Regions from separate parts of the Homo sapiens genome. Here regions 2, 3, 4 and 5 are each linked to region 1. The links are contacts of gene promoters, found by promoter capture Hi-C in blood cells and fetal thymus (Javierre and others, 2016). All regions are on one chromosome and are shown on one strand. Each heading gives the region's core, a stretch centred on a gene start or on the middle of the fragment in contact. The rest is flanking DNA. Distances are from core to core; before and after follow the strand shown. Region 1 holds the start of COPB1 (coat protein complex I subunit beta 1). Region 2 overlaps FAR1 (fatty acyl-CoA reductase 1). Region 3 overlaps FAR1 (fatty acyl-CoA reductase 1). Region 4 has its middle 4.7 kb from the start of INSC. Region 5 has its middle 10 kb from the start of CALCB.

Region 1 (6,253 bases), core at 1,479-3,978:
CCACTCCAGTAATACTCAACCCCACTGTATATACAGTTCATTGTGATGCCCTTTCATGTTTAGTCTGTTGTACTCACATATTCCATTTAGTCTGTTGAATAATTACAAACAGTAAAATCCTAATGATGTTTTATAAAGCCTGTCACTTTGATACAAAGATACTCAATTCACCTGGAATTTATTGAGCATGTATGTGTGCAGCTCTGAAGAACTGGCATGGAATAAAAGGCAGTGGCTGGGTGTGTTGGCTCACGCCTGTAATCTCAACACTTTGAGAGGCCGAGGTGGGAGGATTGCTTGAGTTCAGTTCAAGACCAGCCTGGGCAATATAGTGAGACCCCATCTCTACAAAAATTTTTAAAACTTAGCCTGGTGTGGTGGCACACACCTGTGGTCCCAGCTACTCAGGAGGCTGAGGTGGGAGAATCACTTGAGTCCAGAGTCTGAGGCTGCAGTGAGCTATGATCATGCCGCTGTACTCCGGCCTGGGTGACAGAGTGAGACTCTTGTCTCAAAAAAATAAAAATAATAACGTAGATGACAGGATTCAGGTCCTAGTTCTAACTCAGTGTTTGGCCATTACATGATTTGGGGCAAGTCCCTATTCTCTAGGCCTTGACTTTTTAGATACCACAATTTCTATGGTCCTTGATAAAATGACAAGGTCTTTGCTCTGCATTTATAATTTAAAGGCATTCAAAATTATATAATTACATCTTAGAGTAAAACAGCCCAAACAAAGTGTATTTTACAACAGATCAGGAAGAGTTAATGAGGTTAATATTAAGGTCCTTATACCCATTCAAAAAGCTTTGTACTTAAGAATATGGAAAAATATATGCACTGCCAATGACAATTGTAGGTTCAGATCTAACTAAAGTAATATGTAAAACATTACATTTTCTTGCCTTTTCATATTTAGAACTTAATGACTTGGGGTCATGAGAAACCTCAAAGTTATTCTGTAACAGAATGAACCTCTGGGGCAAATGAAGTCTGTACGGTTTAAGTCCTACACCATGATGGCCCTAAACTGAGCTTTCTTACTGTAAATCTAGTTTTTATACCTTTTTTGGCCTCATTTCTTGCTGACAGATTGTCACTTTTTGGTAAGTTAAGTGGGCTTGGAAACCAGATAACTGCATTTGTAAAACTTCCATGTTAAAAACGAATACACAGAAAAGGAACAAACTGTTGTACACACACCCGGGATTGATCTCAGGGGAATTATGCTCAGTAAAAAAATCCAATCTCAAAAGATTACATTGTATAATTCCATTTATATAACATTGAGATGATAAAAATCATAGAGAATTATTAGTGGTTGCCACAGGTTAGTGTGGGAGGTGGCTATGGCTATCAAAGGACAGCATGAGAATCCTTGTGATAGAACTGTTCTGTCTCGACTGTGTTGGTGATTACACACATATAAGCATGATAAAATTGTCTACAAGTGAATATAAAAACGAGTACATGTAAAACTAGTGAAGTCTGAACAAGGCTGGGTGAATTATGTCTGTCAATTTCCTGAAATTGATATTGTACTATAACTATGCAAGATGTTACCATTGGGAGAAACTAGGTAAAGAGTATATGGGATCTCTGTATTCATGTCACTCTACCATTAAGATTAAATATTAAAAAAAATGAATGCACAGAATCAGAGAGGCACTCTTAAAGTGCTGTCAACACATGGCCTTTGAATACAATTTTGGGTGCTCAAAGAATTTGTAGATTGCTTGATGGTTCTAAAAAGAGAAAGCTCAAAAGAGCTAGATCCTACATAAATGAGGTACTATTGGTGTTCCATCTTCCTGAGATGAACCTGTTAACTAGGGCAGTTGCCGTCAGATCTGTTTTTATTCGCAGTATTTTGCTTAAGCTTTAAGATATTTTGTTATTAATAATTGGCCATAAAACCCTTTTGTGGGCAGAGGGAGGTGTAGGGGCGGGGCGTGCTATGGAACTTCAAATGGGCAAAACCGAAAGTACTATGGCTGATTGCAGCTGTAACAGGTCTTTGGAGATACGTAAAATCCTTTAAAACAGTGACTGTCTCCCTTTATGCATAAAAATTTTTTCTAATCTACTGGGTGCTCAGAAAGGATCACGGAAAGAGGCCATTATTAAATAAAAAGCAGAAATTATACCAATGTGACTTTGGATTTTCAAATAACTCCAGCCCTACCTGCAGAGAGGCAGATTCAAACTACTAGCGATGTTAAGAACTGAAATGGATTTTAATCTAGTGATAATTAATAAAATAACTGAATTACCTTCCCAATAGTATTAGTTACTTTCCCAGTTTATTAGGGTGTGGACAAGAAAAAGGATTACTGGGTTTCCACTTTCTAGTCCAGAGCTCTTTTTCACGGGAACAGAGCCCTGTAAAAGTTTCCCTCTCTCCAAGCACTTTCTCCCCTTGACTGTTCCTGAAGAAGGAACGATTTCCAGTTAGCGTTTAAATTAGCATAGTGCTTAACTCAGAGCTTGGCTTGCAGGGAAAACTAGAAAATACGTGGTTTCATTGCTCTGCGGCCTAATCAAACCCTGGACAAGAGAAGAGGAAGAAAATAGGATATACTTGCAGCGCGCAAGCGCTGCACAAAGAAAGCATGTCCTCTCTGAGTCGCCGTAGGTGCTAGGTGGCTGTGGCTTCGGTCGTTACCCCACCCCCTTCCACGTCAGCCAAGGACTCTGGAGCCGCCGCCGCCGCTGCTGCGGTTCATAGCCGGAGTAGACGGAGCCGCAGTAGACGGATCCGCGGCTGCACCAAACCACTGCCCCTCGGAGCCTGGTAGTGGGCCACAAGCCCCCAGTCCCAGAGGCGTGGTGGGTCGGGCAGAGTCGGAAGAACTGGCTTTCTAGCTGGAAGATGCGGAAGGGGAGCGACTAGGCCGCTTGCGTCTGGGCCTGGCAGAAGGGACCGGGTGGGGGTACGGGTGGGGGTGCGGGTCGGGGTGGGGGCGGAGGGCTAGGAAGCTCCGGGTCGGACGCTCCATCCCGTCCTTTGTATTGGCCGGGGGTCTTTTCCCTCCCAAGACCCCTAGGCGTACCCTTTCAGGCCTAGGGCTGCTTTGCTGGAGGAAGGGGAGGAGGAAGCGGGTGGGGCGAGGTGGGGGTGCAGCGCGTTGATTAAGGGACCCGCGGACATAGAGTCGGAACCCACCAAGGACCGCGATAAAGCGCTTTAGGGTTTTGGCAGAGTATTCAGGCACAAGGTCTCTTAACTTGAGCATGCAGATTGTGTGTTGTGTAAAAACCATACGGTCCATAACATTGTGGGGTGTGGCTGGGGGGACTGTCACTGTTCTGTGGGCCTTCATTCGGCTATACAGCATTCTCAAACACTGGACCGGGATGCGATGAGGGAGTGATAGATAATATACCTTATGCCAGAGCTGATAATGTGGTTTTTACTAGAATTTATTTTTATGGGAACACGATATAGATTGACCTGCCCTTTCTAATACTTTAAAAGGTCACTATAGGTACTTGTTTGTGGGTTTTTTTTTTTTAATTTGTAATGATATGTCTGTGTTTATTTTTCTAGATTTTCTGGCATCCTTAAATCTTGTGTCAAGGATTGGTTATAATATAACCAGAAACCATGACGGCGGCTGAGAACGTATGCTACACGTTAATTAACGTGCCAATGGATTCAGAACCACCATCTGAAATTAGCTTAAAAAATGATCTAGGTAAACTTCGATATTATTTTGAGAATGAAATGAAAAAAGAAAAAACAAAAATAAAAAACTCATATTTCATATTCCTTTATAATTAGAAATGCTTAATTTTTGTCTAAAGTTTTTCTAGGATCTCTTCGATAGACCTTTTATTAAAAATGCGAACTTCTTTAAATATTGGTTGTTTGAAATAGAACATCTCAGTTTATCTTAGTAAACCTAAAGAAATTGTAATAGTTTAGATATTCCTCAAAATGTCATAATTTTTGTAGACTTCAATATATTAATGTGGCTGATTATTTTCTCTAGGCAACAGGTTGAGGATGTGTATTGGAATATCTTAATTCCATCGTGCACTTAACTTCATGTTACTTAGCTTGTAAAACCAAAAGAACTTTGTTCTTTGGATTACCCACCCAAACAATTAGGTGAACACTGGAATAAACATGTATTTTCCAGAAAAGTTTACCTTTTCATTTTTTATGCATTTTTGCAAATAAGAAAACAACTATATTTCTGAACTTTTTGTAATGTTTAATTTTTGGGGGTACACAGTAGATGTATATATTTATGGGGTACATGAAATGCTTTGATACAGGCATGCAATACATAATTATCACATGGAAAAATGGAGTATCCATCCCTTCAAGCATTTGTCTTCTGTGTGACAATCCAGTTACACTTTCAGTTATTTTTAAATGTCCAATTAAATTATTATTGACTGTAGTTACCCTGTGTGCTATCAAATATCGGGTCTAACTCATTTTTTCTGTACCCATTAACCATCTCCACTTCCCTACCACTACCCTTCCCACCTCTGATAACCATCCTTTTACTCTGTCTCCGTGAGTTTGTTTTGATTTTTAGCTTCCACAAATAAGTGAGAACATGTGAAGTTTGTCTTTCTATGCCTGACTTATTTCATGTAACATAATGACCTCCAGTTCCATCCATATTTTTGCAAATGACAAGATCTCATTCTTTTTTTATGGCTGAATAGTACTCCATTGTGTATATGTACCACATTTTCTTTATACATTTATCTGTTGGTGGACACTTAGGTTGCTTTCAAGTTTTGACTGTTGTAAACAGTGCTGCAACAAACATAGGAGTCCAGATATCTCTTTGATGTACTCATTTCCTTTCTTTTGGATATATACCCAGTAGTCGGATTGCTGAATCGTATGGTACCCCTGTTTTTAGTTTTTTGAGGACCCTCCAAACTGTTCTCCATAGTGGGTATACTAGTTTACATTCCCACCAACAGTGTACGAGGGTTCCCTTTTCTCCACATCCTCTCCAGCATTTGTTTTTGCTTGTCTTTTGGATAAAAGCCATTTTAACTGGGGTGAGATGATATCTCATTGTAGTTTTGATATGCATTTCTCTGATGATCAGTGATGTTGAGCACCTTTTCATATGCCTGTTTGCCAATTGTATGTCTTTGTGAAATGTCTGTTCAAATCTTTTGCCCATTTTTAAATCAGATTATGAGTTTTTTTTTTTCCTGTAGAGTTGTTTGAGCTCCTTACATATCTGGTTATTAATCCCTTGTGAGATAGGTAGTTAGCACATATTTTCTCCCATTCTGTGGGTTGTCTCATCACGTATGTCGATTGTTTCCTTTGCTGTGCGGAAGCTTTTTAACTTGATGTGATCCCATTTGTCCGTTTTTGCTTTGGTTGCCTGTGCCTGTGGGGTATTATTCAAGAAATTTTTGGCCAGACCAGCGTCCTGGAGATTTTTCCCAATATTTTCTTGTAGTAGTTTCATAGTTTAAAGTCTTAGATTTAAGCCTTTAATCCATTTTGATTTTATTTTTGTGTAAGTTGAGAGATGGGGGACAAGTTTCATTCTTCTGCACATAGTTTTCCAAGCACCATTTATTGAAGGGACTGTCTTTTCTCCAATGTATGTTCTTGGCACCTTTGTCAAAATGAGTTCACTGTAGGTGTATGGATTTGTTTCTTGGTTCTGTTATTTTCCATGGGTCTTTATGTCTGTTTTTATGCCAGTACCATGCTGTTTTGGTTACTGTAGCTATGTAGGATAATTTGATGTCAAGTAATGTGATTCCTTCAGTTTTGTTCTTTTTGCTTAGGATAGCTTTGGCTATTCTGGGTCTTTTGTGGTTCCATATAAATTTTAGGATTTTTTTTTTTTTTCTGTGAAGAATGTCATTGGTATTTTGATGGGAATTGCATTGACTCTAGATTGCTTTGGGTGGTATGGACATTTTAACAATACTGATTCTTCTAATCCATGATCATGGAATATCTTTCCATTTGTTGATGTTCTCTTCAATTTCTTTCATCAGTATTTATAGTTTTCATTGTAGAAATCTTTCATTTATTTGGTTAAATTAATTCCTAGGTATCTAATTTTATCTGTGGGTATTGTAAATGGGATTAGATTACTTCTTCAATTTCTTTTTCAGATTGTTCACTGTTGTCATATAGAAATGCTACTGATTTTTGTATGTTGATTTTGTGTCCTGGAACTTTACTAAATTTATCATATTTCTGAATTTTAAAAATGTATACCGTGTCTCCTTTTTGTGAGTG
Region 2 (6,253 bases), core at 1,797-4,296, 830 kb after region 1:
AAATAAATAAGCACAATAGACTTACCAAAAATCAGGTAATGAGAAACAACGCTGTTGGGATTGCCATAACCAACAGACCTTAGGCAAGTCAACCTCTCTGATCACTCTTTAAATTTATTGAAGGAGAGGCCAGATCACTGATTGTTAAAATCTCTTCTGGCTTTCACAGTCTGTATTTTTACTACTATGTATTGGAATAAGTTGTTTCCTACTAGTAGATTAGGTACTTGAAAAATTATTAACTCCAACAGGTCACAAGGGTATCACTTTAAAGCAATTCACCTAATATTCACTGAACTTCGAACAGTCTGTGCACAGCTCTGTGGGGTCAAATGTCCCATTACCAGCTAATTCACCTGTTCCTATCTCCTGAGAATTCTGCTTATGCTCATAATCATTATCATAATTACATTTTAATTACAATCCACAAGTTTTTAAAACCACCTATTTCTAAGAAACTCATTTAGGGCCATTCCTCAAACTAAGTGAACTATGAGCACTTGTATCTCAGGGCTCCACTGAGAATCAATCCTTTGTCAGCCAAAAACAGTTTCTAAGCTCCTGCATTACTTCTGGTTGTTTCAACACAGATGTGAACCTCAAAATACTTTAGCAGATCCTTTCCTCCACAGATCTTAACTGCCTAAGGACACAGTAAGTCAAAGTTTTTACTTCTGGGGGAAAAAAAGGTATTTATGCATTTATTCATTCATATGTCATATATTCTACTTCCTGTTAATCCAGGATGGACAGGAGCCATAAATAAAGTACCACATGCTTATTCCAAAATCTTTAGTGAAATAATTCCTATTTATTAAACTGGCTACAGCTTGTTTTTCCCCAAGAATTCAATTAAGAATGTCTAATTTTTTAATTAGGCATTTGCAATAATAAGCTTTATCATTTTATCACTCTTAATAATTAAAAACACTTGTTTGTAAAAGGCAAGCAGAACACACAGAAAGATAATTGAGTTGAATTTTAGCAGTATGCTTTCTGCCTACACATTAAAGAATAAATTATTAAGACAGAATCCACAGACCCCCCAAGGATATTTGAACGTACATTTTTCTGATGAGATAGCACAACACTTTGAGGAGATGCTCAGAGAAGTTCATGACCTTTGACAAGCAATTTCTGCATTAGGGAATATACTTTAAGATTTTATTCTCAGAATACTTCAAAATAAGCTATAATGGTAACAATTCCCTAAATTCAAGGATTTCTCATGAATTATGCCAACATTTCTGGAAAAAATTTCATGTAAGACAAGAATGATCTAAACTAGATATTTCAAAATAATCTTAAAATTGTCAAATAGTTAACATTTAAGTTAAACACACACACACAACTGCACACCAAAGCTGATGGCACAAACCCACAAACATTCTAACAAGAATGGATCCATTAATACATGTGGTATTAAGATATTTAGAAGGCTTTTTAACAGAACGTGCCAAAAAATTAACCACGAACAGTGATATATTCACAAAGTAGTGTGTCCTAATTTCTGCTACAGCAACCGGCTTTGTTCAAGTTCTGATATAACATCTACAGTATGCCAATTACATGTTGTAGTAGTCTAAAAGATAAAGATAGAGAGATACAGATTTAGATATAACTTATTCTATAGCGCCAAAATTAGATTTCCTAACCGCACGCTTTATCCATGTGATTACCCTCACCTTATCCCTGAATGTTCTTTCTCTCTATCGCCACTTGTTTAAGTTCTACTTTCATTCTAAAATAATGTCAGTTCCCACTTAAGAGTCTCTACCACCAATTTTGGCACATGATCCAGTGTTGCTACATTCTGTTTCACATATGTACAGTCTCTTCAATTATATTATCCCTGCCCTACAGTAGCTTACTATATCTAATTTCTCGTGCCCAGAACAGTATAATGCTCAAGTCTCAAAATATATTTATATGAACAAATTTGCACCTCACTTGGATTAACATGTCTATTATTATACTTATCACACTGCATGGTAACAACTGGTTAAAAAAAAAAAAAAAGTCTAGGGATTTGCTTCAAAATAAAGAAGGAAGTGGATGGAGGTATGGATGAAGCAAGACTGACCACAAGTTAGTAACTCTTAAAGTTGGTGATGTGTGTATTATTGCTGTCAATTTTCCATAATACAAAGTTTAGAAGCTTGCCTCTCCTACTAGTAAGAGGGCTTCTTAAAGACAAGTTCAAGAGTGTTCTTCTTTGTACATCTATCCAATACAGAACAGACCAATTGAACTTTACTAAACACGTTTCATTCTTTAGGTAGAACTACTTTTCAATGAAACTTCAACATCTTTTTGACGGTACTTTATTTAAAAAATTTTTCATTAGCTCAAATAAAACATATATTCACTCATTCATTATTTTCTGGGTCCCTGCTTCCTAAGATATGCTGTCCTGGTAAATGTAGGATACCAAAAATAATTTATCCTCTCTACTAAATTAAGAAGGGAAAGAAGGAAGATTAAAAGAAAATATTGTAAAATGCAGTAATACAGTTTTTAAGAAAGGCATCTAGGGCATCTATGTTTTTAATTAGAAAGAAGGCATACAACCTATTCAAGGAAGACGGGCTTAAAATTTCTCCTCCCCCTCCATTTTACAGATGAGGAAACTAAAGCCCATAGAGGGGAAGTGACTTGCCTAGCAAGTTACACATCAAGTAGCTAACAAAACCAAAATTAAAGCTCAGATCTGCTGATTCACAGTTCAATTTGAATTTTCTTTTTTTCTTTTTTTTTTTTTTTTGAGACGGAGTCTTGCTCTGTTGTCCAGGCTGGAGTGCAGTGGCGCTATCTTGGCTCACTGCAACCTCTGCCTCCCGGGTTCAAGCAATTCTTTTGCCTCAGCCTCCCGAGTAGCTGGGACTACAGGTGGGCGCCACCACGCCCGGCTAATTTTTGTAGTTTTACTAGATGGGGTTTTCACCATATTGGCCAGGCTGGTATCGAACTCCTGACCTCATGATCCGCCCACCTCGGCCTCCCAAAGTGCTGGGATTACAGGCGTGAGCCACCGCACCCGGCCCAATTTGAATTTTCTACATCATAATGCTTTTCTGTACACTGTAATGTTAACTAATGAAAGAGAATGAGTTATTTTATTGGTAGTATATATTTCAATTATTTATTAAATCATATTTAAAAAAATAATAGGATAAGATGGGGAAGGCTGGGAAGAAAAAGTGCACAACAAATTGGTAAGATACTTATGTGTGAAAACTACAGGCATATGCCATGCTTCATCAATTTTGAGATACATTTAAGACATAGTAACCATTTCACAAACATTTTGAAGTAAATATAGACAATATACATCTTCAAAAAATTCTAAAATATGAAAACATACATCTCTAAAGCAAGAAAATATAAGGTATCCTATTAGACACTAAAAAATCACTGTCATTTATTTAGAGGCAGTGTCACAGAGCACAAACACTCAGAGCAAGAGTCTCATCTTCTAAGGTAACAAATACCTAAGGCTTGTGGCATTTTTTTTCAGTTGAAGGTATAAATCAGTCCTCCGTGCTATTAGTTTCACAAGCATGGAGTTTTGGAGTTAGACAAAGAAAGGTTTGAATCCCAGCTCTGTCACTTAGCTCTCCAACCTTGGAAAGTTACTAACTTCTCTGAGTCTCACTCTCCTCATCTGTAATATGGTATTCACATTTTAGAGAATTATATGAGAATCAAATGTGGTAATTTGTTGAAGGATTATGCTACAGTGCCTAGATGAAATAGGAATCACATTAATATCGTTTCCTCTCAGAATCCCTATGGGCTAAGTGAAATTAAACTAAAAGCTAGATGAATTTACGCAACTCTTTCCTCTCTGTTTAGGAGACTGTAATAAGTCTGTACTGATCCTAGGGCAAATCCTATTGGTTTGGGAATCATTCTTTGAATAAGAAAAGCTTATTTTCTTGACTTCTGTCTCCACTCTTCAAATTGGGAACCGAAAACAATGGTGAATTTATAAGTGTTTAAGTTGATCAGCTATATCTAAATCCAGCACTTCCATTTTGTCTTACTGAACTGAAACTCTAAGCCTGTTGCAAACCCATTAATGAGAGGAACTATAGAACCAATGTGTAGGAAGAAGGATATAAAGCCAAAAGAAGCAGTTAAAATGACACAATTCTATCAGTGGTTTGTTGGGTTTTTTTAAACCTTAAATTCATGTATTAAACTCTAAGAAAACAAGTGTTCAGGAAAACAAAGACTGTATCTCCACCATTCAGGGTGGGTTAGTAACTTGATCCTTCAGGTTAAGCAAATACCACCTTTCAGTACATACAGTTTCAGTTTCCATCAGTGACAATCCAGTCATTTCCAAGATAGGAACACACCTACCAAGGTGGCTCTTACCAAGTAGGGACTGAAATAAGACTATCTTCTCTCCTACCCCAAGTTCAGACTAGCCTACCCACATTTTCCTGAGTATTAGCTCATTTCAGTTGAATGCTTGTCCCCACTAATTATAAAAATAATGCTCACTTTTTTTTTTTTTTTTGAGACAGGGTCTCACTTTGTCACTTAGGCTGGAGTACAGCGGCATGATCAAGGTTCACTGCAGCCTCAACCTCCCAGGCTCCCATCTCAGCCCCCCAAGTAGCTGGGATTACAGGTGTGCACACCACCTTGCCCAACTAATTTTTTTTTTTTTTTTGGATAGAAAAGGGGTTTTGCCATGTTGCCCAGGCTGCTCTTGAACTCTTGAGCTCAGGCGGTCTGCCTGCTCATTTTTTTAAATTTGAAAAAACTAAAAAGTGCAAGCATTTTAAAGCATCCATGATCTTCCAGCCAAAGATTAAAACATTACAAGGGGTCATACCATCATCTTTCCTATGAATCTGACCATAACTGTGAAAATATTTAAATTTGTATAGAGTACCTGCCACTAAACACAATTAACTACCAGCCCAAACATTAATATCTTCATTCCAGCTTTCTTGTGACTAAATTCACATTACTTTTTTACTTACTTAACTCAATGGTTTCTTCTCAATCGTTCTGAGTCTCTCAGCTATATACTTTGTTGCTAACCACCACCTCTTTAAAACTCTATCCCAGGTTTCTCTAAACAGTGTATTCCTCAGTATCTACAGAAATCTCTCCAACTAATCTTTTTCTTTCTTCACTGGCTCTTCTTACATAAACTGACAATCTCTAGAAAATAGATGAGGTCTGACTTGAATTTTCTTGTCAATATTGAACACCCAGCACTTACTACAGTGCCTGGCATCAAGCAGATGCTCAATTAACATTTACTGACTGATTCTGCCAATCCTGACCTGTCCCCTCCTAGCTGTGTGACCTTGGGCAAGTTATATCTCTCTGAGTCTTATCTCCCTCATCTATAAAATACAGATAATCAGAAGATGAGATAATATTTGGAAGGTTCAAAACAGTGTCTGCCACAAAGTAGCACCCAATAAATTTTGCTATTATTATCAATATACTCTAGCACAGGACTCAAAAATGTTTCCAACTTATGATATATGGTTGACTGTTAAACCTACCTCTCAATAACCTTACTTTCACTTCATTCTCCTATAACTATCAAATATTTTATGCTCTTTCCTTTACTACCTATCTCCAATCCATTATCAACTGTTAATTTTCTCTCCTAACCAACATAAAAAATTATTTATCAGCTAAGCTGCAACATAGCCTTGGTTGATTTCCAAACCCCTAAATCTTCATTCGAATCTTCAATCATCCTTAAAAACCATTTTTAATTTGTCACTCTTGTCCACAGTTGCTTATACCAAGTACAAACTACTGGAATGTCATCCTCATGTCTTGTAATAACCCACATCCCAACTTCTAGTTCACATGATGGCTCAAAACTCACCTCTTTCAGGAAACCTTCCCTGATTCACTCCACGCCACTCAGATTACTTCTCTACTGCAAGTCGCCTCAGCACTTAGGTATTGTTATACTAAGGGCAAATGTGATCACAGTAAACAGCATCACTAAGAAATCGCTTTCACAAAATTGTTTCTAGATCATAAATAATGGTCCATTAGTTAAAATGCTTTGCTGATCTGGTTAACAAGCAAACATGTTACACAGCAAATGCTCTCTTTGGCTTCTGTCCTTGACTCTATAACTCTTCACAAACCTTTTGTCCTATCCTCAAACAGAAACTCTATCTCCCATTTAAATACACTGGAAATATGGTAGTGGGCCACCTTCTTTTCTACTACCTCTTCTCTGACCTCAGTCTCTGCC
Region 3 (6,253 bases), core at 2,392-4,891, 790 kb after region 1:
AAGATGATCTTAAAAAAATGAACTATTTGAGTGGAATTTGGAGGAAATGTAAAATGTCAGCCAGGAATTCTTTAAGAAACAGTTTCTGAGCATAGCAGGGTAGGGGAAGATGAATCCTTTGCTAAGACTTTAGAAAGACCTAGGCAGTGCCTTCCAGAACTTTCAGACAGACAAAAGGCACTCTCCAGATCTTAAAGAAATGTGTAACAGAAACTCTTATTGTTCAAAAGGCAGGATCTAAGAGGCAAGGATTTAAGATCTAAAAGTGCTGTCCCATAGGAACCTCACAGGGGACCCAAGATAGAGAAGGGTTTGTGTCAAAGAAACTTATGGGTATGGCTTTCGTCTAATAGGCTGGATTCCTTGAAAACAGATACACCGGAAACTCACACAATTTTTAAGCAATCATGTCAGATTACATGTAAAGGGATAGACAAGAAAAAAAAAATGAAGAGACTGCTATATCAAGGGTCAGCAAACCAGAGCCTATATACCAAATCCAGCCCACCACCTGTTTTTGTAAATAAAGTTTTACTGGGACACAGTCATATTCATTCATTTGCCTATTGTCTATGGCTGCTTTCATTTTTAACAGCAAAGATGAGTAGCTTCAACAAAAACCGCATGTCCTGCTAAACCTAAAATATTTACTATATGGCCTTAATTTACAAGAAAAGCTTTCCAGTTCCTGCCCTGATCCCCTAACCTTTCATGGGCACGAAGCAGGATAAGAAGGCTACTTGGCTGCACACAGAGCCCACAGGCCAGTTTTTATGCAAAAGGAAGGATGACTCAGAGGGCAGAGGCAAGAACCTCAGAGAACTCCCAGAGAATAAGACTGAGCTCCTTATCAAGAAATCATCAACACATATCTGACTGGAATTCAGAAATGTTATAGACCAGTGTTTGCTGGGTGCCTCCCAATTTCTCTCTTTTTGAATAAAACTGTCTAAAGCCATTATCCTATGCTTACCATCATTTATGATGGGCGTATGGGCAGTCAGTAACTCGTTGCTTTAGTTCACATATCAATTATTGAGGAACTATACTTGAGGAGCTATGCTGACAAAATCACTCCTAAAGAGCGTCATCCGCCAATTGACCAGATTTAGATGACAAAACCCTGGCTTCCAGCTGATGCCACAGGGATCTGGGGCGGTGGTGGGGATGGGGAGGCGCGAGGGGGAAGGCAGGATGAGTGGGGAAGAAGCAACTGTCCTTTCCATGTAGAAGAAATATGAATTGTTTTGGCCAGAAGGTTGACTATAGCAGATTGTACTTTCCAAAAATGATGGCAACAATACCCTTCATCTTGACCACTTTCTAAATCCCCTTACTTGGACACAGGGTGGGGAATATCACACACTGGGGGCCTGTCGTGGGGTGGGGGGAGGGGGGAGGGATACCATTAGGAGAAATACCTAATGTAAATGACAAGTTAATGGGTGCAGCACACCAACATGGCACAAGTATACATATGTAACAAATCTGCACGTTGTGCACACGTACCCTAGAACTTGAAGTATTTTTAAAAAATGTGCTATGTCAGGCACCAAAATAAAATTATGAACATATGAAAAAAAATTTAAGAAGATTTGTGACTCACTTGTAACTAGAAGAATGAGGCAAAAGTGATGCTGCATGACTTCCATGGGTAGCTCAGAAAAGGCAACGCAGCCTCCACCTTACTTGCTAAAAGACTTCCCCCTTGAAGCCATCAGCTGCTATATAAGAAGTCTAATTCCCCTAAGGCTATCATTAATCCTTGCAAAGAGCTATATGGAGAGATCCTTATGACACGACAAAGAGTAACATCAGTCCCCTTGCTGTTCCATTGCCTCTCTGCCCACCGGCCTCTTTCATCTGATCACAAACACATGAAAGACTCCAAGCCAAAACTGCCCAGTGGATTCTTTCTCAAATTCTTGATCCTGACAGAAATAATTGAAAGAAATAATAAAATAACTGTTGCTGTTTTTAGCTTCTAAGTTTGAGATGATTTGTTATGCAGCAACATCTCCTCTGAAGCATTTAGTAAACCAGCTATTCACTTATTTTTTTAAAATTTTACTAAGCCCTCTTTCTTCGTGTAAGGCAATGTGATGTATTTAACCTGTTTTTTTTTTGACCCAGTTTTTACTTTTCTGTCCTAAATTATAACAACCTTATTAATATAAAGAAAGCATGCACTGCCACCATTCATGAATTTACATCTGCATTTTAGCCATGAAGAATGCTTCCAATGGCAAGTATTGCATTTTGCAGATCATTCTAGAAAAGTCTGAAAATATTTCTTTACCTGCTCTAAAGTTGTTCAACACCTCTCACATATTTCAATTAGCTAACATATAGGGTTAGAAACATCATGGAAAAGTGAATCCACAGACAATACCTACGAGGAACTCAGATCCTGATACACTGTAACTGGCAGTTACCTCACTTTTATTTTTTGAGTAGTTGATGGAAGTTCTGGGATCAGCATCTTCTTTATACAAAAATACTCAAATCCTGAACTCTCCAATCAACGACTCCACTGTAATGCCAATGTAGTTAAAAAAAATTAAGTATTTTAATAGTATATTCCACTGTAATTGTGTGGTAAAGACAGTAGGAGATCTTTAAGTTTGCGGGATTTCAACAAAAAAAAGAAAGAAAAGCTATAACAACGATAAGAAAACAAAGTTTTCTGTTTATTATTAACTTTTTTTTCATAACTATGCCATTCCCAACCTGGATAATTAGTCAAAAACTGAAATAACCATATTATAAGCTGAATGGGCAGCTGAGATATTTCAAGTAATTTTCTAGAAGCATCCTATATTTTTCACATAAAACTGCACCATCCATTTGAAGCAAAACTTTTGCCCTTAATCCCCTATACAAACTCATCCCTAGGTTTTTAAGAGGGAGAGAAGGGCTTAATTTCAGCTTATAATAACAATGACAACCATGATGTAGGACATTTCCTATATTATGGAATTTTGGAGGATGAACGACCCAATACGATGTGATCCATAGTTAGTGTCCCCAAAGATCTCCAAATTCTAAGAAATGTCCTAGCATTCTGATTGTGATTAATCAGGTGAGTAAATCTAAAGGTAAAGCTCATGCTAGTGATTTTTTTCATCTCTCCAGCAAGCTGCCACCACCTTACCAATACATAGTGTATTTACTGCTATTCTTCTTACCGCGGTTTCTGACCTGTCAACATGAGTGCAATCGAGCAATAATGCAGATACTCTATGGCTGACACCCTTCCGATAATGATGCGATAGGCTGTTGGAATTAAACTTAAAACTGGGGCACCTGAATACTTGGTTTAAAGGATTCATCTTGAAGGAATGACTTACATAATATCCTGTAGGAAAAATAAGCGTCAAAGCAATTTAAATATTGTTATTCAGAAAGAAGCCTAAAGTAAGACTTAGAATTCAATACATGACAATAACTTATCCAAACTTTAAACAAATTAGAGTGACTTACAACACTACCTTTGCTTTTCTGACAAAGTCTTAAATTCAAGAGGCTTCTCATTCACAAAAGGCTATTAAGCCTTATCATAAGCATAAACAAATACAGAGTTAATATGCATTTTAGTGTAAGCATGGGTTGTTTAACAGAGGAACAGATAAGACAGAGCTAGTCACCATTACCTTGGGCTTCTTCCAGTCATCCTGAGGTAGATATCATACAGGAATGCTGGGGCCTTATGGCTTACAGCAATCCAGTAATGATATAAAAGATGATTGGAGGTTAGATTTACATTGGGCCGTCTGAAGGCCTGTTCGAGAGGATTCCTCTTGAAAGTGGAAATTACATGGTACTCTGAAGAAGAAAAGTTGTGTAACAGCTTTGATAATAACCATGTAATGAAGTTTTGAAAAAAAAAAATCATGTTTTTATAATGCAAAATATTTTACCAAAGATGTCAGAGTTCGTACATTTAAAAAACAAACTTTTCTACTCTCTAGTAGCTAAGAGAATATGGTTATTAGACTGCTAAACTCAAGTGGTTTTGTAACTGCCGCTATTTATGAATTTTAGATGAATGAATTTTTGCTAAAATTCACTCTTAAAATCCTTTTAATGTTTTACCTATGTCAGTTTACAGTGTCACTTTCTATATTTCACCTCTCACGATAGCTTCTTCCTTTCTGTTCCTCTTTCCAGACTCTTATTACTGTACTTACTTAAAAAAGAAAAGGAAAATAATCATCCTTTGCTTAAGATGCTCAAATTAACATACATTAACAGGCTTAAAACAACCCAAAATTAACTTCTGTTGTAATTTATATAGGCTATGTAATGTCAACATAATCAAACCTAGTATCATCTATATTAATACTTTACTAGAAATGTATATTGAGATAGTCACTAAAATATAACGCTCAATTTCAGCTTTTACTAAACTTTATAACACAATAAAAGATTACAAAAAAACCTAACTCATTAAAAATGTTTAAATATTCTTAAAAGAATACTGAAAATAATTATCATAAAGTTAAAATCACCTTAGATTTTATCTTTTTCTTATATGCTCTAATGGTCAATTTTACACTGAAATAAAAATGCCACAGAAAAATCCTAGGACAAATGTCATAAAAAATCTACATTGAAATCAAAATTGTTCTGCAGGGGTAATTAATCAATTAGAGGTTAAATAAGACCTATCACTAAATCAATGCCAAAAAAATTTTACTTTAAATTTGAACTCATCAACCAACAATTTAAAATTGACTCAATTTCAATGGGTTTTAACTATTCCTATTTAAGTTATGCTATTCCTATAGAACTAGGAACATGTATATCTGCTGTGAATCTGTGAATTTAAATAGATTAATACAGGTTAATAGAAAATATTCTGGCAAACTGTATCCTACTTCCTAACTCCTTCATTTATTACTCTGGGTACCACTTGATATACCACCTCTTGTAAGAAGTGATACTGCCTATGGATAGGCAACATCAAGACTGAGGGTGCTCACAAGGGAGAAAAAAAGCACTGTTCCCATGCCATAGGTATCTACGAGGGCTACTGCAGATGGCAGGAGAAAAACAGCAAGGCTTAGACAAGGGTAGGGTGGGTGGGTAAGAATAGACAGCAGTATATTTTTAAATTTGTGAAACATTATTAAGGACCACAAGGTAGTATTGGTAGATAATACTTCTAAGACGACAATTAAGAACAAATTGGTAACTCAGTGGCCTTAATGCCTCATAGGTATTCTAACATTAAAACTTCAGGGAACTTGGTTCTTTAAGATTTATTCTAACATTCAAAAACACAGGTAAAATCATACCAACTTCACCCCAGTGGAAAGGATTAGTGCTGCCTGTTGTACAATTATACACCATGATGTTTCTTGGTCTGCAAAGACAAAGATGAAACCAATTAATCATAATAAGAGGCCAAACATATCCAATCTAAGTCCTACATAGTATTCAAGAAGACATGAGGATGATGGGCACCTTTTCTATACTATTTTTTTTTAATTATCCTTAAAGGATTAGTTTTTACTTTAATGACTATTTACAACTACCCTTTCTTCTTCCCCTACCAAAAATAATAACTTATTTTAAAAAATACAGACTTTTTTCTTTCACATTTTTCCTCCTTATATTAGCAGGAATGTCTATTTTTAAACACGAGGAAAACAACAAATGACCTCAGCTCTTCTTGTCTCATTTTCAGAGGATCTAGCTGAAAAAAAATTATGGACTAAGTTTCCTTTTGCCAGAAACAACATATTCATATAATCCTATCTCTCTTTTTTTAGGACAGAAAATACTGATTATCAAAAATAAGGGTAGTTTACTACCTAGAAAAAAAAAGTTATTGGGAAGTTTAAAGTTTAAGTGTTACCTGTAAATGCTACTATTATTTTTTAAAGGAAAGATGTTCATGGGCTGATTAAAGCTGCTCTGGTGTACCATGTTTAATATATGTAAACCATATTCTGTGAATTTCAGCTCTTTATATATTCAACAAGTTTTAGTTTGGATTAAAAAATCATGCTTAGGGGAGGGTATTTTTTTTTTTTTCATTTTTAAGTGAACTTGTCTATCCTGTAAGTAATACATGAGCATTAACATTAATTCTTCATTACTACTGATGGGAGCACTTGCTATTGTCTGTGATAATACCAACTCTTGGAGTTGGCAGTGATACAGCCTAAATATTGGTATGGCAATATCTGGATAGAGGGATTAATTAACATTACTCAAAAGCTATGTCTTCCCTTTTCAGTTACTA
Region 4 (6,253 bases), core at 2,243-4,742, 610 kb before region 1:
CTGGGCGAGTTGTCATGTGCCTGTTACCCCAGCTACTCAGGAGGCTGAGGCAAGAGAATAGCTTGAACCAATGAGTCGGAGGTTGCAGTGAGCCAGTGAGCCAAGATTGTGCCACTGCACATCAGCCTGGCAACAGAGTGAGATTGCATCAAAAAAGAAAGAGAGAGAGAGAGAGACAGAAAGAAAGAAAGAAAGAAAGAAAGAGAGAGAGAGAAAAGAAAGAAAGAGGAAGGAAGGAAGAAAGGAAGGGAGGGAAGAGAGGGAAGGAAAGGAAGGGAAGGAAAGAAGTCTCCAATTCTTCCTCAAAGAAACCTGTTTTGCATCCTGCCTCTACTACTTTCTAGTGATGAGTCCTTGGACAAATCACTTAACCTCTCTGAGCATCAGTTTTCCCATATGTACATTGGGGAACATAAAAATCTCTGCCCAGCTCATGAGGTTGTTGAAAGTATGAAGTGAGGTCAAGGATGTAAAGCACCTGGAAAACTAAGATATTTTATTATATGCTAGAAATAGAATGAGGCTTAGATCATAAACAGATCGATGTTAGCAAAAAAGCCTCAAAGTTCTTTTATTTCCAGGCCCAAACTCTGTGTCTGGGTTTCAGGGTAAGAGAGGAACAGACTTGGTTTGTTAGATGTTCCCTGGAGGCACTTGGCATAAATGCCCCCCCCCCACTTCCCAATACACACACACACACACACACACACACACACACACACACACACACACTCACATCCACCTTCCCAGATACATACGGCACAGCACAGCCTCCTGGACTCCTGGACTCCCCATAGACCCCAGCCACCTGGACCTTCGCTGGCCGCCTCTCCATTGCCAGGGGGCCGTCTCATGGCTCCAGCCTTGGCTGCAGCGACTCCAAGTCTCCTTACAGAGGCCCCTGTGAACAGCTTCTTTCCCTTTGCCCACCCTTCTGGGCCATGGCCCTGAGAAGGCCTGTGACTCAAGGCAAAGCTTGTCCAAGGCAGTTCAGTACTGAGGCTGCCCAAGGGAGCTCAGAGTTGAAGCTTCCTCCCCCTCGACCCCCTCCCCTCTGTCTGCCTGACTTCTCAATGCTGTGCTGTCCTGCTTAATTCTTAATGGAAATTCCATCCCCGGCGCCGGCCCTAGCTGGCTCAGGGAGTCCAGGCTTGGGCCAACAGCAAACTCCACCAGAGAGACTGGGCCTGTCTGGCTATATAAACACACCTAAACACATATATACATGTGTGTATACACACACCAGCAGCAAGACATGCTCAGAGACATTTACAAACTCAGATATTCTCATCCAGACACATCCAGACACAAAGATAATATACATTCTAATCATTAACATTTATTGCATATACGAGAACTTCATAGGTATCAATTGCTCTAATCCTTAGAACAGTACTAGGTTCTGGTATTATCCCTATTTTACACATGAAGAAACTGAGGCCCAGGGAGGGCCTCAGTAAGTAACTTACCCAAGACATTGATAATAACAGCCTAACACATGAGCACCAGGAACTGTGCTAAGAAGCTTATGTGCATGTTTCATTTTGCTGCCATAGTAACCTTTTATAAAAGTTATTATTATCCCCATAATACAGACACAGAAAAGGGAGGCCAGGTGGTTTAAATCACCTGTCTGTGGCCTCACAGCTGGTGAGATGGAGACTCTACACAAATACACATGGGAATCCTTATGGATGCACAGAAAGACACACAGGTAAAGACACATGCACATGCTCAGAGGTGTACCCACAAATAGCTTATTTCACCTAAACCAAAGTAGGCGCCTCAGGACTGGTCCAGAGCTGTATCAGGCAAAGGTCCCCTCCAGCCTGACTCCACATTCTTCTCCTGTCCAGATGGCCTATCCCAGATCCACCAGCTTCACACATCACTTTAGGAAGGACAAGTTCAGACCTAAATGGAGGAAAGACTTCAGGTTTACACTGCAGTCTGCCAGGTTCATAGTCAACCCCCAGCCTCAGCTCCAAATTGTTCCCCCAGTATTCCCTAGATAGTCACTGAAAGAAGCCTCAGCTACACTCTTCTGAAGGGATCGCACTTCCAAGGAGGGAGCACCTCCGAGGCTCTGAGCACTGACCAGCCTCCAATGCTAGGATCCTGTCCTTCAGGCCCAGATGAATATAAACAGGGCCCTTGGGACAAGGCCTGGCACAGGAGCCCAAGCATTGGGTAGAGCAGAGCACGTGTTGCCCGAGGGAGTTGAAGTTATACTGTAGGAAGATGGCAAAACCCTGGTGGAACGAGAGGAGACAGGGATTGGGGCCAGGCCACTCCACCCTCTCCTGCATTTGTTCCACCACATACTTCTTGTGGCTTATTGGCCACGTAGGGGAGGGCAGAAAAGTCCTTTTCCTTTTGGGACAGGCAATGAAGTCCTGAGTCCAGAGAGTTGAGAGGACAGACATGCAGGAGAGATCCAAAGAGTTCAGTCCGCCAGGAGCTTATCCACTGCTTGAAGTTGCCATGCTATGCTAGGTATCTCCAAGGGGCAGGATGTGTGCTGGCCTCAGGCCTCCTTCTAAGCAGCCACAATAGAAAGTGCCTAAGAAGGCCTGTTATAGCCAGGGTAGTCTCTATTGTCTCTTGTGATTTCCCCTATCCCCAACCCAGAATTCCCCAACTGTTTCTGTTGTCACAAGCTCATCCACCCTGTAGTCAGAGAACATAGCCCAGCATGGCAGTCCCATGGGGCACCAGCATTGGAAGAGTTTTTTGAGGGAGGAGTGCTTAATCTCCACAAATGAATAAGGAATCATGGTGATTCAGGCAATAGCTCTAAGATGGGGAGATATTCTGAGCTGAAGAATTTGCATTTCTAAAAAGTTCCCAGGTGATGTTGATACTACTGATCTGGAGATCATGCTTTGAGAACCACTACTCTCTAGAATAAGAGAAAGTCAGGGATGATTCCAGTTCAAAACTAAATTTCCAACCTAATTACAGCATAAAGATGATCTCTTCTGAAAGCTCCTTAAATGTACAATCCTGGGCCAGGAGCAGCGGCTGACACCAGTAATCCCAGTACCACTTTGGGAGGCTGAGGTGGGAGGATAAGTGGAAGCTAAAAGTTCAAGACCAGCCTAAACAACAAAGCTATACCTCATCTTTGAAAAAAAATAAAAATAAAAAATTAGCCAGGAAAAGTGGTGTGCACCTGTGGTCCCAGCTACTCAGGAGGCTGAGGCAGGAGGATAGGAGGAAGACTGCTTGATCCCAGAAGTTCAAAGTTACAGTGAGCTATGATCACACCACTGCACTCCACCCTTGACAACAGAGTAGGACACTTTCAAAAAAAAAAAAAGAATTTTTAACCTTTTCAGTAGTTTGTACACTTTTTTGCCTAACTTTTCTCTTCCCAACTTCTGTGTCACCCCTGCCATCTATTGGTGGGTCTTTCATGGGCTCTGTCATGGCTCTCTCTGCCCCAGCACACCTCAAGACAAAAAACAGCATCCTCCACTCTGTCCTCTATCTGCACAGAGAAGTTATCAAGATGAGGGACCTGCACAAAAATAGCGATGGCCAGGCAGGCTCTCAGTTCCAGGGATGGAGATAAGAGATCAAAAGGTCATAGTGATAGCAGCTGAAATCCAGCCCCACCCTTAGAGATGAGCAATGGGCATGGGTCCCAGTATCCACAGCTGCAACCTCCAGTATCCCCCTGAGACGTGCACATCAAGATGCTGCCCTGCCCCCAGGATGGAGAGATAGGGCCCTCACAGAGGACAAGGAGACAGAGTACCAGACAGGCTGGTGCAGATGCATCATTAACTCACTTGGGCAATGGCATCTATCTCTCCAGGCCTTGCTCTGCAATTCTTACAAGAAGGAAAATGATCCCCAATTCCCAAAGCCAGTGTGAGAACTTGTAATATAATTAGAATGGAGAGACAGAAGGGACAGAAAAGCCCTCAGAGATCTCTGGATGCAGGGGTTCTGAAATTTTACGATCCACTAAAATCACCTGAAGGGGGGCAAAATGCAGAGTCCAAGGCCTCCCTCAGTGTTTCTGAGTCAGTAGGTGGGTGGTGTGCTGGAGCCCACATGCACCTCTCTTCCCGAGTGACGTTCAGTGACTTCACATTGTTAGCTTGAACTTGACCAAGGTAGAAGTATTTATTTACACTACAGAAATTGAGCAAACGCTATAAATTAGGGTGTTGTGTTTTGTTTTGTTTTGGAAAGCCTGTTGTTGATCACTTAGTAGCACACCATGGGACATTGTGGGTCTCTATTTTCTAGCATCCCAAGAAATTATGATGCAGGCCAACTTTGAGAAACACTAATCTAGTGATGAAGTTCTAACCCAAACCCCTCATGGTACAGATAAGAAAACTGAGGCCCAGGCAGGGGAAGAATCCCAGTCATGGCCTCTGTAGTAAGCTGCTCAGTTCAGGTTGGTGGGAGCTGGGGAGCAGCCCTGCCTCTTTACTTGACCCTGTCCTGTATACGTCTGCTCCACTGAATACCTGCTGAGGCTTATTGGCTACGTGGGGGAGGGTAGGAAAGTCCTGTTGCTTGTGAGCCAAATAGATTACTTCTTATCAGCATTTAGAATTTGAACTACCTGACCAGAGTGCCCTGGACAGCAGAAAATAAATTCCAAGGCTGCCTTGCCCTTCCCAAACCTTAACTATAATCTCTTCCTTGAATTTAGAGAGAGTCCCTAGTATCCTTCCAACAATGTCCATATGTGTCTTAGAGTAACAAGCAATAATCCCTTACTCACAATCAAGACCATCTTCAGAAATACAGCCACAGAGTAAATTAGTGAAAATAAGAACCCAAGATTCCTGCCCCTTTGTCTTTCCCCTACATCATGCCCTGCCCTCAGACGGGATGCCAAAGGACAAATTATTGTGCAAACATGCAACTCTCTAGGGTGGTGGTTTTCAAAGAGTGGTCCTAGACCAGCTATCTTGACAACACCTGGGATCTTATAACAACATGCAAATTCTCAGGTTTCACCCCACAGCGACTGAATCAGAAAATCTGTCACTACCGTCTAGCAAGCTGCATTTGAACAAGTCTCCTAGGAGATTCTGATGTCTGCTAAACTTTGAGAATTGCTCCAGTGGGAGGAGTCATAGCTTAGCCTCCCTAACAATGAAATAAAGGTTGTTCAGGTCAGGGAGGAAAGGCCATCAGGGTGTAAGACCAGCATGGGCTGTGTAGGGCCGGTCACACCACTTCCTCCCCAGCTTCCTTAACCCCATGTACCTGGAGAATCCCAAGAGACTAAGCAGTGGCTGTGCATCCTGAACTAAGATACAGTCCCCCTTTATGAAGCCTAAAAAGCAATACCTTTCCAAAAACAGCAGGACAACCTCAGCAAAGTCATGGCCAGGAAATGCTACTTCTGTCACTGCCTTGGTGCCTAACTGAGGAAGTGACTCACATTGGACCTTCCCTGGCTGTTTAGATTCCCAGAAGCTTGCTCTGTCTTGTCTGGAACAGCTTCTCAGGTCCTTCTGGAAGGAGGACAGCCTGGCTCCAAAAGCCATTTTGGCCTCTCCAGCTCAGAGTCCAGTGTTTCTTCCATTTCCTGTGCTCCCTTCAGGGAGAAAGATGGGTATGAAGGTAACTGAAGAAGTAAGGTCTCGGGAAGAGGGACAAAATTATAATAACAGTGACTACGTTGCCACGTATTGAGTTCTTCCTATATACCAGCCCTGCCTGTACCAAGTACTTTCCATGTTTCGTCTAATAATATGTAGTTATTACTAGCCCCACTTAGAGGGAAGGAAGCAGGCTGAGAGAGGTTAAATAGCTCTCCCAAGGTCAGGCAGCCAGTTTACAGAAGATCAGAGATTCAAACCCAATATGATATGAAAACATATCAACATATCTGCCTGACTCTAGGCTCCTCTGGTTTGTTCCCCTCTCCCCCCTTTTTTTTTCTTTCTAAGACAGGGTCTCACTTCCATCCCCCAGGCTGGAGTGCAGTAGCATGATCTCAGCTCTACAGGCTCAACTTTCTGAGCTCAGGTAGTCCTCCCACCTCTGCCTCCCCAGTAGCTGGGACTACAGACATGCGCCACCAAGCCAGGCTAATTTTTTGTATTTTTAGTAGACACAGGGATTCACCCTGTTGACCATGTTGGTCGGACTCCTGGGCTCAAGCAACCCTCCCACTTGGGCCTCCCAAAGTGCTGGGATTACAGGCATGAGCCACTGTGCCCGGCAGCCCCTCGAGTTTCAATACAAGTGCAGAGGTTCGCCTGGGACAGGA
Region 5 (6,253 bases), core at 1,163-3,662, 580 kb before region 1:
TTACCAAAACAGCGTGGTACTGGTACAAAAACAGACACATAGACCAATGGAACAGAAAAGAGAACTCAGAAATAAAGCCAAATACAGCCAACTGATCTTCGACAAAGCAAACAAAAACATAAGGTGGGGAAAGGATCCCATACTCAACAAATGGTGCTGGGATAATTGGCAAGTCACATGTAGAGGAATGAAACTGGATCCTCATCTCTTACCTTGTAAAAAAATCCACTCAAGATGGATCAAAGACTTAAATCTAAGATCTGAAAGCATTGAAATTCTAGAAGATAACATCAGAAAAACTCTTCTAGACATTGGCCTAGACAAATAGTACATGACCAAGGACCTATAAGGAAATGCAACAAAAACAAAAATAAATAGATGGGACTTAAACTAAAAAGCTTCACAGCAAAAGAAATAATCAGCAGAGTAAACACAATCCACAGAGTGAGTGAAAATATTCACAAACTATGCATCCGGCAAAGGACTAGCACCCAGAATCTACAAGGAATTCAAACAAAACAGCAAGAAAGAAGTTATACAAGTGGCCAATAAACATATGAATAAATGTTCAACATCACTAATTATCAGGGAAATGCAAATCAAAATCACAATGCGGTTATCACCTCACTTCTGCAAGAATGCCCATGATTAATCTTTTTTTTTTTTTTTTCCAAATGGCCTACTTCTGGCTTCAATTCTGTTAGTTTTCACTTCATGAATTTTGGAGTTCTGCTTTCAGGTTAATATATGTTTATTATTGTTATACCTTCTTAGTGGTCATCCCTTTTATCATTATAAAATGTCCTCTTTATCTCTTGTATAATTTTTTGTTTAAAGTCTTTTGTGTCTAATATTACCGTAGCCACCCAGCTCTTTTTTTTCTTTTCAATAGCTTTTCGGGAAACAGGTGATTTTTGGTTACAAGAATAAGTTATTTAGTGGTGACTTCTGAGATTTTGGTGCACTCATCACCCAAGCAGTGTACACTGTACCCAATGTGTACTCTTTTATACCTCACTCCCCTCCCGCCCTTTTCCCCAAGTACCCAGAGTTTATTGAATGATTCGTATGTCTTTGCATCCTCATAGCTTAGCTCCCACTTATGAGTGAGAACATGCAATGTTTGGTTTTCCATTCCTGAGTTACTACACTTAGAATGATGATTTCCAATTCCATCCAGCTTGCTGCAAATGCCATTATTTCGTTCCTTTTTATGGCTGAGCAGTATTTCATGGTATATATATACACCACATTTTCTTTATCCACTTGTTGATTAATGGGCATTTGGGCTGGTTCCATATATTTACAATTGTGAATTGTGCTGCTATAATATAAACATGTGTGTGCAAGCATCTTTTTTCATATAATGACTTTTTTTCCTATGGGTAGATACCCAGGAGTAAGATTGCTGGATCAAATGACAGATCTATTTTTAGTTCTTTAAGGAATCTCCACATTGTTTTCCATAGCGGTCTCACTTGTTTACATTCCCACCAACAGTGTAAAAGTGTACCCTTTTCACCACATCCATCAGTTTTTTCTTTTTCTTTTTTTTCCTTTTTTTTTTTTGAGACGGAGTTTCGCTCTTGTTGCCCAGCCTGGAGTGCAATGGCATGATCTTGGCTCACTGCAACCTCTGCCTCCCGGGTTCAAGCAATTCTTCTGCTTCAGTCTCTCAAGTAGCTGGGATTACAGGCATGAGCCACCATGCCCAGCTAATTTTATATTTTTAGTGGAGACAGGGTTTCTCCATGTTGGTCAGGCTAGTCTCGAACTCCCAACCTCAGGTGATCCGCCTACCTCGGCCTCCCAAAGTGCTGGGATTACAGGTGTAAGCCACCATGCCCAGCCAATTTTTTTATTAAAAAATGGCCATAATTAAAATTTTTTAAAGTATGGCTATTCCTTAACCAAGCGCTATGCTATGATGTTTATGCCTTTGCATCTTCATATGCTTAGCTTAATCAAAAGTTGCAGACAATATTCTGATTCCCACACAACAAAGTAAGTTCCAGTTGGATTATAAGTATAATATGCCTGAAAAACCGTCTCTGACAATTTTGCCATTCATGGAGTTAAGGCACATATAAATAAAAGCTTGGTGTAGTTGCACATGGGGGAAGCTGTTTTTGAGGATAAAAAAGAAAGAAATTATAAAGGAAAATATTAATACATTTGATTGCCAAAAATTTAAATTAAAAATTTGTAAATTTAAATTAATGCTAAGCTATGAGGATGCAAGGCATAGAATGATATAAAGGACTCTGGGGACTTAGGGGAAAGTGCAGAAGGGGGGTTGGGAAAAAAGACTACGCATTGGGTGCACTGTACACTGCTCGGGTGATGGGTGCACCAAAATCTTAGAAATTATACCTAAAGAACTTATCCACGTAACCAAACACCGCCAGTTCCACAAAAACTATTGAAATAATAATAATTAAAATATATATATATTTAAAATTGAAATCATGCACAGAATTAAAATGTAAATCAAAGACAGAAAATTGAAAACTTCTGCAATATTTGGAAATTAAGGATAGATTTCTAAAAAACCAATGTATTAAAAAAATTTCTCAAATAAATTAGAAAAGATTTTGACTTGAATAAAAATTAAAATGTAACATAACAAAATTTATAGTTAAAACAATGCTTTGAAGGAAATTTATAACTTTAAATACTTATATTAAGGGAAAGAAAGAAAGGTTTCAAATCAACAACCTAAGCTTTCCCCCTAAGAAAATGGAAAAAGACTTTTATATAATAACCAAAGAAAAAAGAAGAAAGGAATAATAATAATAAAAGCAGAAATCAATAACATTACAAAGAGAAAACAAAGAAAAGCAATGAAACCAAAAGCTTGATCTTTGTAAAGATAATTAAATAATATCCTCTAGCCAGAATGACCAAGAAAAAAAGAAAAAGAAGACAAACTACCAATATCATTAATGAAAGAGAAGGTATTACTGCAGACCCTACAGACAGTAACAATAATAAAGGAATACTATGAATAATTCTGCCCATAAAGTCATCAACTTAGATAAAAATGAATCTATCCCTTGAAAGGCATAAACTACCAAAACTCACTCAGGAAGGAAAACCTAAATGGTATTATAAAAATGGTCCTATATATGCTTTAAATACATTTAATATATAGTTGAAAACTTTTCTACAAGGAAAATCCAGGCCCAGGAGGCTTAACTGGTAAATTATTACAAACATTTAAGGAAGAAGTAATACCAATTCTAAAAAATATCTTCCTGAAAACAAGAGAAGAGAATACTTCCCAACTAATTTTATGAGGCTAGCACTACCCTAACACCCTAAAAGCAAAAATATTAAAAGCACAAACTAATGCTCTCCTTGAACATAAACTCAAAATATTCTTCCACAAATTTATTAGCAAGTAGATTTCTGCAGTATATAAAAAGAATAATACATCACAACCAAGGGGAGTTTGTCCTGAAAATGCAAGGCTGTTTCAACATTTTTAAATCAATTAATTTACCATATTAACAAACCAAAGAAAAAAAATATGACTATATAAATAGATGCATGGAAAACACTTGGAAATTTTTCCTTTTTTTCTTTTTTTAACTTTAAAGTTCAGGGGTACAAGTGCAGGATGTGCAGGTTTGTTACATAGATAACTGTGTGTCATGGGGGTTTGTTGTATAGATTATTTCATCACTTGGGTATTAAACCTAGTATCCATTAGTTATTTTTCCTGATTCTCTCTATCCTCCCACCTTCCACCCTCCAATAAGCCCCAGTGTGTGTTGTTCCCCTCTGTGTGTCCATGTATTCTCATCATTTAGCTTCCACAAAAGTTCTCATATTAATCCATAATGATAAAAAAAACACTCTCAGCAAATTAGATATCAAAGGGAATGTTCTTAACCTGATGAAGAGCATCTATTAAAAAATTTATACTTAATATGTTTAATGTTGAAAGACTGTATTATTTATTGCTATGTAACAAACTACCCCAAAGCTTAGTGGCTTAAAACAACGATTTTTTTTTGGTCATAGTTTCTGTGGGTTAGGAATTTAGAAATGACTTAGCTGGGTGGTGCTTGTTCAAGGTCTCTCATGAGGCTGCAGGCAGGGTATCCACTGGGGCTACAGTCATATGAAGGCTTAACTGGCACCAACGAAGCTGATTGCAACCCCACTTTGCTCACACATGGCTATTGTCAGGACGCCTCAGTTCCATGCTATGTAGGCCTCTCACAGGTGCTTGAATGTCTTCACAAGTCATCTGACTTCCCCCAGAGTAAGTAACCCAAGAAAGAAAGCAAGGAGGATATTATAATACCTTATATGCTGCTCTAAGCACATGTCACATACCATCTCCTCTGTCACATTCTATTGTTAGAAGCAAATCAGTCAATAGAATTTACACTTAAGGGAAGGGGATGTTGACTCCCAATTTTAAAGGAAGTAGTACCAAAGAATGTATGGACTTTTCTTTAATATCACCACAACGATTGAGTAGGATGTCTGCACTTATTACTCCAATTCAACATCATACTGGAAGTTATAGCCAGAGTAATATGTCAAGAAAAAGAAATGAAAGATAAGCTGATGTAAAAGGGAGAACTCAAACTAACTCTACTAGAAGAAAAAGTAACTGTCTACATAGAAAACCCTGAAAGAAACAACAACAAAAAAAACCTCATAGAATGAATAATTGAGTTTAGCAAGGTCACAGAATACAATGTTAATATTTTAAATATTGTATTTCTATCTACTAGCAATGAACAATTAAAAACAAAAATGTTTAAGTACCATTTACATTAGCACCAAAAAATAAAATAGTTAAAAATCTAACAAGATATGTGTAGAATATTTCTGTTGAAAACTGAGAACACTGTTAAAAAAAAAAAAACAGAGAAAACCTAAATAAGTGAAAACATGTATTGTGTTCATGAATTGAACGACTTAATATTATTAATATGCTAATTCTCCCAAAATTAACCCACTGATTTAACACAATCCCATTAAAAATCTCATCAGAAATTTTGTAGATAGTAACACACTGATTCTAAAATGTATAAAAGATGTAGAAAATATTTTAGATGTAGCTAAAATCTTTTTGAACAAGAATGAACAATGTTGGTAGACCCACATTACCTGGTTTTGAGATTCACTTTAACACTACACTAATCAAGGCAGTATGACATTGGCAAAAGAATGGTCAAATCAATCAATGAGACAGAATTGAGAACCCAGAAATATACCCACACAAATATGATCAGTTGCTTTTTGACAAAGGTGCAGGGGCAATTAAATGGTGAAATAACAGTCTTTTTAACAAATGGCACTGAAACAATTGGGTATCTATATTCACAGGTATGAATTTCAACCTACACCTCTCACCTTATACAAAAATTAACTCAAAATAGATCACTAATCTACATATAAAATATAAAACTATAAAACTTTTACAAGAAAGTATAGAATAAGGTTATTGTGACCTTGGGACCTTAGTTAGGCAAAGAGTTCTTAGACATGAACTAAAAGCACAATACATAAAAGAAAAAAAAAGATGAATTGGATCTTATTCAAATTACAACTTTTTCTCTGTGAGAGACACTGCTAAGAAAATGAAAAAGCAATCCGCAGATTCAGGGGAAGGAAGTTTCCAAACTATATATCTGAAAACAATCTTGCATCCACAACATATAAAGAGCTCTAAAAACTCAACACTAATAAAGCAAGCAAGCCAACAAAAATTTAGCAGAAGATTTAAACAGACCCTTCAATAAAGGTGATAAACATATGGTAAAATAGATGCTCAACGTCATTAGTCATTGGGGAAATACAAATTAAAACAGCAATGAGATACTGCTACATACCTATTTGTGGAAATACTAGAGCTCTCATATGTGGCTGGCAAGAAGGCGAAGTGGTACAGTCACTTCAGAAAATAGTTTGGCAGTTTCTTACAGAGTTAAATACACACTTTCCAAATAACCCAGCAATCCCACTCCAAGGCATTTACCCAAAATAAATGAAAATGTATTGTATTAGTTTCCTAGGGCTGTCATAACAAATTACCACAAACTTTGTGGCTTAAAACAACAGAAATTATTCTCTCACAGTTCTGGAAGCTGGAAGTCCAAACTCTAGGTGTCAGCAGGGCTGCTCTTCTTCCAGAGACTGTTCTGTGATTCTGGCTTCTGGTAGACACAGACTTCCTTGGCTTGTGCCTCCTTGCCTCTGTCATGTCACCTTCTCCACATGTGTCTTC

The links. Contacts are between HindIII fragments. The CHiCAGO score rates a contact against its expected background, and 5 or more counts as called.
Region 2: a contact is called between a fragment that was not itself captured here and the fragment with the promoter of COPB1 in region 1, in 1 of 17 cell types (monocytes). The highest score is 6.0, in monocytes.
Region 3: a fragment that was not itself captured here is called in contact with the fragment with the promoter of COPB1 in region 1 in 1 of 17 cell types (M1 macrophages); the score reaches 5.4 in M1 macrophages.
Region 4: a contact is called between a fragment that was not itself captured here and the fragment with the promoter of COPB1 in region 1, in 1 of 17 cell types (total B cells). The highest score is 5.2, in total B cells.
Region 5: a fragment that was not itself captured here is called in contact with the fragment with the promoter of COPB1 in region 1 in 1 of 17 cell types (total B cells); the score reaches 5.1 in total B cells.

The regions. Positions count from the first base shown.
Region 1 is chr11:14,496,286-14,502,538 of GRCh38, reverse strand. COPB1 (coat protein complex I subunit beta 1) reads left to right here and starts at 2,728. Exons shown (of 22, transcript NM_001144061.2): 1 at 2,728-2,832; 2 at 3,554-3,701. The coding sequence starts at 3,611. RefSeq lists an enhancer at 2,507-2,606. The HindIII fragment of the contact is 3,446 bases long and covers 1,885-5,330 here.
Region 2 is chr11:13,670,820-13,677,072 of GRCh38, reverse strand. The region is part of intron 1 of FAR1 (fatty acyl-CoA reductase 1); the gene reads right to left. Among named protein-coding and RNA genes, the nearest start is that of FAR1, 5.3 kb to the right of the region's middle. The HindIII fragment of the contact is 1,771 bases long and covers 2,161-3,931 here.
Region 3 is chr11:13,712,081-13,718,333 of GRCh38, reverse strand. It overlaps FAR1 (fatty acyl-CoA reductase 1), which reads right to left. Exons shown (of 12, transcript NM_032228.6): 8 at 5,301-5,368; 9 at 3,654-3,825. Among named protein-coding and RNA genes, the nearest start is that of FAR1, 47 kb to the right of the region's middle. The HindIII fragment of the contact is 5,924 bases long and covers 680-6,253 here.
Region 4 is chr11:15,107,071-15,113,323 of GRCh38, reverse strand. It overlaps a transcript of INSC not described here. Among named protein-coding and RNA genes, the nearest start is that of INSC, 4.7 kb to the left of the region's middle. The HindIII fragment of the contact is 3,929 bases long and covers 1,528-5,456 here.
Region 5 is chr11:15,080,811-15,087,063 of GRCh38, reverse strand. No RefSeq gene overlaps it. Among named protein-coding and RNA genes, the nearest start is that of CALCB, 10 kb to the right of the region's middle. The HindIII fragment of the contact is 626 bases long and covers 2,100-2,725 here.